3 separate regions of the Homo sapiens genome follow, and all the other regions are linked to region 3. The links are contacts of gene promoters, found by promoter capture Hi-C in human tissues and cell types (Jung and others, 2019). All regions are on one chromosome and are shown on one strand. The core of a region is centred on a gene start or on the middle of the fragment in contact, and the rest is flanking DNA. Distances in the headings are between cores, read along the strand shown. Region 1 has its middle 230 kb from the start of LINC02379. Region 2 has its middle 160 kb from the start of LINC02379. Region 3 holds the start of FAT4 (FAT atypical cadherin 4).

What was found. Contacts are between HindIII fragments. The study calls those that stand out against the background at their distance.
Region 1: a contact is called between a fragment that was not itself captured here and the fragment with the promoter of FAT4 in region 3, in 2 of the 25 tissues and cell types used here (H1 embryonic stem cells and stomach).
Region 2: a contact is called between a fragment that was not itself captured here and the fragment with the promoter of FAT4 in region 3, in 1 of the 25 tissues and cell types used here (H1 embryonic stem cells).

The regions. Positions count from the first base shown.
Region 1 is chr4:125,828,463-125,831,589 of GRCh38, forward strand. No RefSeq gene overlaps it. Among named protein-coding and RNA genes, the nearest start is that of LINC02379, 230 kb to the right of the region's middle. The HindIII fragment of the contact is 6,615 bases long and covers 1-3,127 here.
Region 2 is chr4:125,900,738-125,903,437 of GRCh38, forward strand. No RefSeq gene overlaps it. Among named protein-coding and RNA genes, the nearest start is that of LINC02379, 160 kb to the right of the region's middle. The HindIII fragment of the contact is 5,660 bases long and covers 1-2,700 here.
Region 3 is chr4:125,313,654-125,316,428 of GRCh38, forward strand. It overlaps FAT4 (FAT atypical cadherin 4), which reads left to right and starts at 1,302. Exons shown (of 18, transcript NM_001291303.3): 1 at 1,302-2,324; 2 at 2,747-2,775. The coding sequence starts at 2,759. The HindIII fragment of the contact is 10,793 bases long and covers 1-2,775 here.

The sequences.
Region 1 (3,127 bases), core at 425-2,924, 520 kb after region 3:
CAATCTAGGCTGGGTCTTTGCTCCTCCCAGAATAGAATGTTCTACAAAGCTTGAGCTCTGTGAGACAAGTGGTGCTCAGTCTATGCAAACCCAAAGCTGAGTGCTTTTGAGGTTTTTCAGCTGTCATGCAATGAACGGCACACACAGACTAAACTTCATTTTTCCTGGGCAGCTTTGCTAAGCCTTGGGGAACCAGCCCGCTATGGATGTTAAGCTTGGTTTATCCTTTCTGCCTTTCTGTGGGTAATAAATTTGCTTTGACTAACTTGTTCAGAGAATGTTCTGTCTCACTGGATTCATGCAATTGGTAGAGAATCTTTGCAATATCTGCTAGAAAAGTTGTATTAATACTGAAATTTGTGTATAATATATAACTAATGCATTTATAAGCCTCTTCTAAGAGGTAAACTTCCTGGTGGCTGAAATACAAAATTTCAACTTAAACTTGGTGAATTCTTCAGCATACAGGCTGGCTGGTTCCTTAATTAGGGTTAACATGTAAGGACTAGAAGATAATAAAAAGGATAGTTTCCAGTGTTAATACTAATATCCAACAAAATATAGGATACAAAATTATTAATTTACTTGTACTAATTGTACTAACATATATTCTGGTAAAGAAACTAGAAAATATGGCTTAATCCTTTCAGATAATGTTTTGGGAAGAGCCCAGAAACTACTCTTTTTAGCTGTCCATTTCATCACTTGTAAAGAAAAATTGGAATATGTTGGAGAAGAAGATCAAGGAGTTGAGAGAGGTGAAGAGAGATTAGGGGAGAAGAAGGAGGAAGTGGTAGAGCTGGGAAAGGAGGCCTGAAGAGGGGAGCAAAGGAGGGAGAAAGAAAAGATGGAGCAACACAAGAAAGGAAGTAAAGTGGGAGGACAGGATGATGATGAGGAGAGAGGAGGAAAGAAAAAGAGGTGGGAAGAAGTGGAAAGGAATAGAAATAGAATAAAAACTGGAAAAAGAAGAAGGGTGAAGGGAGGGAGTGGGAACAGCCATGCAAGGATAAAGGAAAAGATCACCCGGGTAGAAGCTCTCAGGAAGAACGGTCTTGACCTGTTTGGGAAATCATGGAAAGTCCATTTTGGCTGGAATATAGTGGACAAAGAGGGAGTAGGAGAAGTATGCAGGGCAGGGTGTTCTATATCATGCAATTCTCTAATCCCTAAGTAGCAGAAAGCAGATAATATTGTCTTATGTCTTTTAACCATTGTTTTAAAATATATTTATTTTTACAAACTCTGGCATTTTATTTAAGCTGCCAGGTCATTCAGATGTAGGTGAGTTTGAGAACCATGACCCTAATTTATTTTAATGTATAGCTTAAAGAATGAAGTGAATCTCAATCTAAAGCTAACAGCTGAGGCCCAGCATAGCTTCAGGATTCAGCTAGCCACCTTCTTGTTACAAATGCACCCCTCAAATCATGCTATTTTCATACACGCTTATTTAGCTTGCTCTTTATAATACTTTAACTCAACAATTAGAAATTACATAAATAAGCATAATGGTTAAGCATAACAGAATGAAATCCCAGCTCCAACATGTCTAGGTATCTGGCTAAAAGAGAACTATCTCACCTCTCTAAATTTCAATAAGTTAATTTGACAAGTTGAAGTATATATTTCACAGGATAATCATGAAGAGAACTTAAGTTGTACATTAAACACTCTGGCAGTTATACATTAAAATAAATTTAATGCAAATATTTAGTTATGGCAATTTTAGCATCAATATGTTTCAATAAAAGTATCATAATAAATGGCTATCACCTCTATCCAATTTTGAAAGAAAGTAAATCAGTGAAAAAAGGAGGCAAACATTGAGAAAAACAACATGAGTAAAATATGGCAATGTTTGTTTTAACTCAGTTTTATTTTAAGTTCACTTTAAACAATAGTTATATAAAAATTACCATTTATTAGGGGCTTTGTAATTTAAGAAATGTATAGAGAAATGAGAGGTCTTTTTTAAGCTTAAAAAATGTGTAGTTAAAGGTAGATATTCAGAATTCAACCTAATTCCACACATGTTGGGTCCTGTTTACTTCTATCTTGTTAGGAGCAAAGGTATACAATGAACTATTTAGTTTTCTTTTGTTTGGTTTATGAAACCTTTTGTGGTTTTCATTTAACATAAAGGAAATCTAATATGTTCCCATGAAAATCATTAAGATAGTGCTGTATATTTCCAGTGAAATGGAAAAGGCTGTTAATTGGTCAATATTGATTGTTTATTTATATAAATCATGACCCCGTTAGCTAAATATTCGCTTCTTAAATAGCAGTAATTTTAGACTTGAATTGTCTAAATAATTGACTCAATTTTTCATTTTAGCTTGCCATTATTCACACAACTTTTGAGTTAAAGATGAATATAAGCCTTTGTAAATTTAGCTGACATTACCAGATTACTTATTTTCCTAGTGATTTTTATCTAATTAGAGTCTTAATCTGAAATAACTTATTTTTCTTAACCCAACAGCAATCCCTTGCTGACTTCATGCTTTAAATTCCAAAATATACAATACGTATTAGTGAGCTGTTGGCTGGCTTATTAGAACTCACTTGAAAAATATAACGTGACATTTTTCAAAGGTAAAATGAGGTGGCAGAGAATCATGCTTTTTGAATGAACTAGAATTGAAGCAAATTTAAAGAGCTTGTTTGTAATGGCTTTGTGATTGGGATCAGTTTACTACTTTGTCATTATTGCTACTTCACCAACTAGTATAAGAGCAAACAAATTTTTAAAAAATATGTTTCTTATTAATTTATTTGCCAGAGAAAACTTCTGAGTTGCTTGTTTTCAGTTGATTTCTTAAATTTTTGCTTCCAATGATATTTTTTCAGTTCCACTGAAAGAGAAGGGGAGTGTTCTTTCCAGCTGTTTAATGGATAGCCTTCCTACTGACATTGACAGCAGTAATTAGTCAGAACAACAATAGTTATACTGTAATGTGAACTTTCCCAGCCAACAAAAAAGATTTGGAATTTTTTGCTTATCTGGAGTTTGAGCTCGAGTTTTTAATTTTTCTTCTCAACAACTCTCCATTGTGTGTACATCCCTAGAAAATAAATGTCATATTTGATGAATTGTATTATGTTTGCATTTATGATATAT
Region 2 (2,700 bases), core at 164-2,663, 590 kb after region 3:
ACTAACAGAGCAAGAATTCACTCATCATCGAGGGTATGGAGCTAAGCCATTCAGGAGCAATCCTTCCCCATTATCTAACACTTCCCACTAGGCCCCACCTCCAACACTGGGGAGCACATGAGATTTGGAAGGCACACACATCCAAACATAACAGGGTGATTTCGCTGGCAACAATTAGAAACCTATAGATATCTGTTACCAGATCTCAAGTTGACAGCTGGCTTCACAAAAGTGATAAGAATTTAGTAACAGTTTCCAGTGTATTTTTGTAAAAAGTCTACCGTATATGACCTAAGGCAGTATTTAGCATTCTTATGTAATCAAGAGATTCATACTTCTACATATTTCTGATCTCACCCTAATTTCATATTTTCCAAATATTATAGATACATGAATCATCTTTAAAATAGAAGCCTACCCTTTCCCTTGGGATTTTGTCATTTTTGGCATTATATGTGATAAAGTTGTTCAAAGAGACAAGGAAAAATACAATATTTTATATCACTATAGTGTCAAATTATATTAATTTTCACTTCGTATATGTAACAATCTTGGTGCTACTTTCCAAACATAAAAATAAATTTAAAGATTTTCCCTCCTTTTACAAGTGATACTTTTGCTTTTTAGTGTACTTAAGTATTAAAAGTATTCATTGAAGCATTTTATTTAATTTCAAATAAATGTTTTCAACATCACATTATGATATTATTAATTATTTTGAGATTGCATCTGTACTAGCTTAAATGTCATGTCCTTGGCTTAGCCTCTGCTGTGTGCTCTAATTAGAGATGCTCCTCATGTTCTCTTTGCCCTTGCCATACAAACATGTGCTTTTCTGCATTATTGTGTTTTATTTTCTCTCTGTTGATTATCCTTATCTGAAATAATTGTTGCTTACAAGTTTTTTTAATCTCTGCTTATTATCATCTGTTTTACAATGACAATGATTTATCTTGCTTATGCCATATCCCCAGTGCCTATGATATTGCCAGGTGCAGATTAGGCATTCTTTTAAGTATTTGAATGTGTGGATGAAACAAAGAAGGAATACACTTTGTAAAGGTATCTAAAATAGCAGGTATGTATTGCATTTATTCATTTATATTTCTTTATACTTGTCTTCCACTTCTTAAATGGCAAAGAGAAGAAATTTACATTGAGAAGACAAGAGTAGAAAGAGATCAGCGCTGTGGGATTGTAAAAATAATTGTGCAATTTGGTATGTTTAAATGATCATAACCATGCTCTGATTCACACCACAGTGGGAATAATTCTAGTCTCAAGAAATGGATTGAAAAAATCTCATGCTTCAGTTTTGTAATTTCGTATGTAAGTAGATAAGTAGATGTTTAAAAGGTCATTGAAATATAATTATAACCATTTACTAAAGAAAAAAAAGTGTTCAGTCCCAAAGCTTTTCACATCATGATAAGCAGAGTAAGAACAGTTAAATCTGGTCCAAGTTTGCCTTAGATAAATGGCTATCAAACTCCATTAGCCAGTGATTCTGCCTTCTTTCATCCTGTGCAATGAGGAGGGAAAAGTAAACCATTAAATCACAAAAGTCAGCACTGAAACACTTGGAAAGTGGTTCAAATATGGACAGATCTGTTGGGAAGAGCATCAATGTGATCTTCTAATTACTAACAGGCAAAATGATATGGATGAAGCCATCCTGGGTCAATTTCTGTAAAGCTTGAATGTTTCTTCATTACTTGGGTTATATTTCCCCTCACCATTTACTACTCCATCACAACCTGAAGTACCAGTTTAAATCATTCATTTAAACTTGATCATATGGGGCAATTTAAAGTTCTTACTTCCTCTTGCCAGCTTACAAACACATCAATTCTAGGAGTCTTTCAAATTCCAAAATGAAAGTCACTCACTTTATATTTAATTGTCATCATCATCGTCATCATCATCATAGTCATCATCAACATTGCTATCATCCCAGTAGTTTAATAATGCCTGGATAGTACAGAGATGAGCAAGCCTTTCAGGACTGTTAATATTGATTTCAGCATCAGCCATGACCTTGTTTGGCCCTCCTATGCATGTCCCTTGGATATGTAAAACAAGAATCAGGTAATGACATCAAATGATTTATGAAAGCTAGTTAGTAAAAATAACCAACTGACTAATTTTTATTACTGCTTATTTTTATGGTTGGTGATCCCCAAACATAGTCCTGATCGTTATTATTTCCATGCTTTTAGATTAAATCATTGAAAGTTAATGTGCTTTTGAAAATTTTCAATGTCATGCATTTATTCACTTTTCCTTTACTCATTTATTTGTAAAAGCATCTTTGGATTCATCAACCATATTTTTCTTGTCATTAGATACTGTTAGATGCCATTTCCTTGCAGAAAAGCATTGATGGAAGACACCCTGAAAGAATAGTAAAAGATAAGGATTTAACTAAGTAATGGATGGCAAGAAAACATTTAAAAGAAACAAAATGTAACAAGGTCAAAGACATCAAAGGAATAGAAAGAGAAATAATTTTAAAGATTACATTTAAGTGTGATCTCAAAATATACAATATCATGTACAAAGTTTCTTTATGATGTTTTGTTGATCTGAGCTAAGTACTTTTGGAATCTTCATTTTGTGGTTAATTATGCTACAAGAATCTCTATATGAGATTAGTGCCTGATTATACGGTGGAAAGATACATTTTTCCAAATGTTGTAG
Region 3 (2,775 bases), core at 52-2,551:
GGGCGCAGAAAGTTTTACGTTTGTGAGGGATCCTTGTGGCAGAAATGTATGACATATGCCCTGTATTTGCATTGTTTGGCTTGAATTCTTATTTTCTAGGTTGGTTCCCTTAAAGGGGAAAAATATCGATCTGATTCCTAGTAACGTTTTTCTTCTTTTAAAGAAACGATGCATGCCACCACAAAAATTAACTGCAGTGAATAGTGGGTGAGTTGATCTGAGTGCATTAAGTGGCATGTGGGTATTTTTAAAAACTTAAGCTTAAATATTATTTTATTTATTTCTACTTTCTCGTATCTATTTCTCCCAGACTGAAAAGCAAAATAAAACTTTATTAGGTTTCCTTTGACTAAAAAATGTGGAGGTGGAAATACTCCATCAGGGATCAAAATTCCAAACTAACTTTGCAACAGGAAAAGATCTCCCTCTTTTCAAAGGGCTGCCATTATTATTGTTGTTGAAACCCTAAGGTTTGGGCTACTGGCACCTGGAATCCAGTTGGGAAAGAAAACAAAACAAACACTGAGTTCCCCTGGCCTTTCCTATAGTAGGAAGTCCAAAGTGCCCTTGCTACGGAGGCCTCCTGCCCCCTAGTCACCTGGAAGGTGGGGGAGAGGGGCAAGTGAGTGAAGATTTAGAGTTTAGCTCGCCCTAGACAGCAGGGAGCCCACTGTGTAGAAAGAGGAGCAAAGGGGAGGATTTGATTTGGATTCTGTGGGATCACACTGTATGGCAGCTCTATCCCTTGCATAAAGAGAGAAGGGGCAGGAAATGGTTAAAGCAAATCTGCACTGTGCATTCCCAGACAGGCTTTGCTTAATCCTTCCTCCCCGCTTTAACAGACCCTCACCCCCCGCCTTTCTTTTATTTCTCTCGACCCCCTTACCCCTGAGTTATTACTAGCATAACAACCTAACGGTCTTCCCCCAGACCCTGCCACTAAAGTTATTTATCTGCAAACCTGACCCCACCCCCATCTATTCTGCGGCAGCCTTTTGCTGTTATTGCTCTGACGCCGGCCAAGATTTGGCCGAAAAGGAAAAAAAAAAAAAAAAAAGAAAAGAAAAAAAATCACCCCCCTTTTTAGCGCCTCCGCCTCGCTGTGCTCCCACACCAGACCGCCTACAGCCCTCCGGGAGGCTGAAGTGATTAGCATCCCGAGAAGCCAGTCGGAGGCCGGGCAAGGCGGAGGGCGCTCGCGGTAGGAGTGCCGGTCGGGGCTGCTTCAGCTCCGGCCCAATGGGGCTGGGGCGAGGGAGGGGCAGAAGGTGACAGGACTGGGAGCTAGGGGGAGTCCAGGCGAACTAAAGTGCGGGGATCAATGAGTGTCGAGCAAAGTTTCTGAGTGCTGCTCCAGCTCGCGGTCTTCCCTCCCCCTCTGTTTGTGTTTCGGCGACGCGCTGTGTGTGTGTGTGTGCGTGTGTATGTGTGTGTGTGTGCATGCCTGTGCGGCGGGGAAGGGGCGGGGAGAGTGTGAGGGACCAGGCGGGAGGTGGAGAAGGGCTCGCGGAGCCCTAGCTCCACCGCAGTCCAACCTTCGGCCCCGGCCGGCGAGAGGGAGAGCGCTGACAGGCGCCGTCCGGAGCTGCGGAGGGCGTCACTACAGCCCAGCGCCGACTTCGCCGCCTCCGCTGCCAACTGTGAAGGAGAGAGAGGCATCAACCACCCCCCGCCCCAAACAAAAAGCCTTGTGGATTACAAAGTGAAACTGACACGGGACAATAAAAGCAGAGATAGCGAGGGCAGGGGCGAGGCGCGCTAGAGTGGGCTTCTGACTGGGGCCGCCGGAGAACGACCCCCCCTGGCATGGTGAGGGGAGGGCGACTCGGGGACCGCACGCTGTTTCTGCCCGACCCCTGCGAGGCCGAGAAGAAAGGGGAAACTGCGTTCGATTTGGATGTACAAATAATGGGTCGGCAGGCGCCCCGGCAGAGGTGAAAAATGCCGAGGAGCCCTGGCTGTTGTTTGTGCCGGACCACGGGCTTGAAGCCGCAACAGGGGCGGCGGCGGCGGCGGCTGCAGGAGGGGAAGGGGCAGAGTTGAGCGCTCCCGGGTACGGGAGCCAGAGCGCGAACGCTAGCGCTTGGAACGCAGTTCCCGAACTGCCTGCGCGCAGACGCCGCCGCCTGGGCCTCAGCGGCCACTGCCGGCGCCCTGTTGGAGGGGCGTTGCAGCCTGGTTTTTGAGGAGTGGGGACTCCAGGAATTCCATCGCCTCCAGCTTTTGGGAAAGAAATTCGATTCTCCCGGTTCCCCACCACCCCTTCCCCGGTGCGCAGTTGTGCTTGGACGTTTGTTCCTCCCTCTTCACGTTCTTCGCTGCGGGTAAGTTCTAAAGTTTCTGAAGACCGTTCTTTGCAATGATTCCTCATATACCTTAGATACAGGCAACTTCTCCCAACTCTCATCCACCCGGGTGAAAACGCTCAGACTATCTGGATTCAAAAACAAAGTAAAAGGGGGCATATATAAGAGGCTTGAGAAACTTTTCTGGGAACTCAGCTCACAGGAGTGTCCCGCGGAATGCCCTGCCGCTTTTCGCCACAGCATCTCTCTTGCACTCCGCGTTCAACTGGCTACCTAGAGTCTTTTGCTGATGCTACTTGCTTTTGCCGGACTGGAGGTTCTTTGAAATAGCAGAGGTCTCAGACCAAGCCGTCAGCTGAATCTTTGCTGGCGCTCCTTAATCCCTGTAAATATCATTGCGTTTGCTTCACCCCTTCCTTCTCTTTATCACATCGTTTTAGGGAGCCAGGACCATGGACTTAGCACCAGA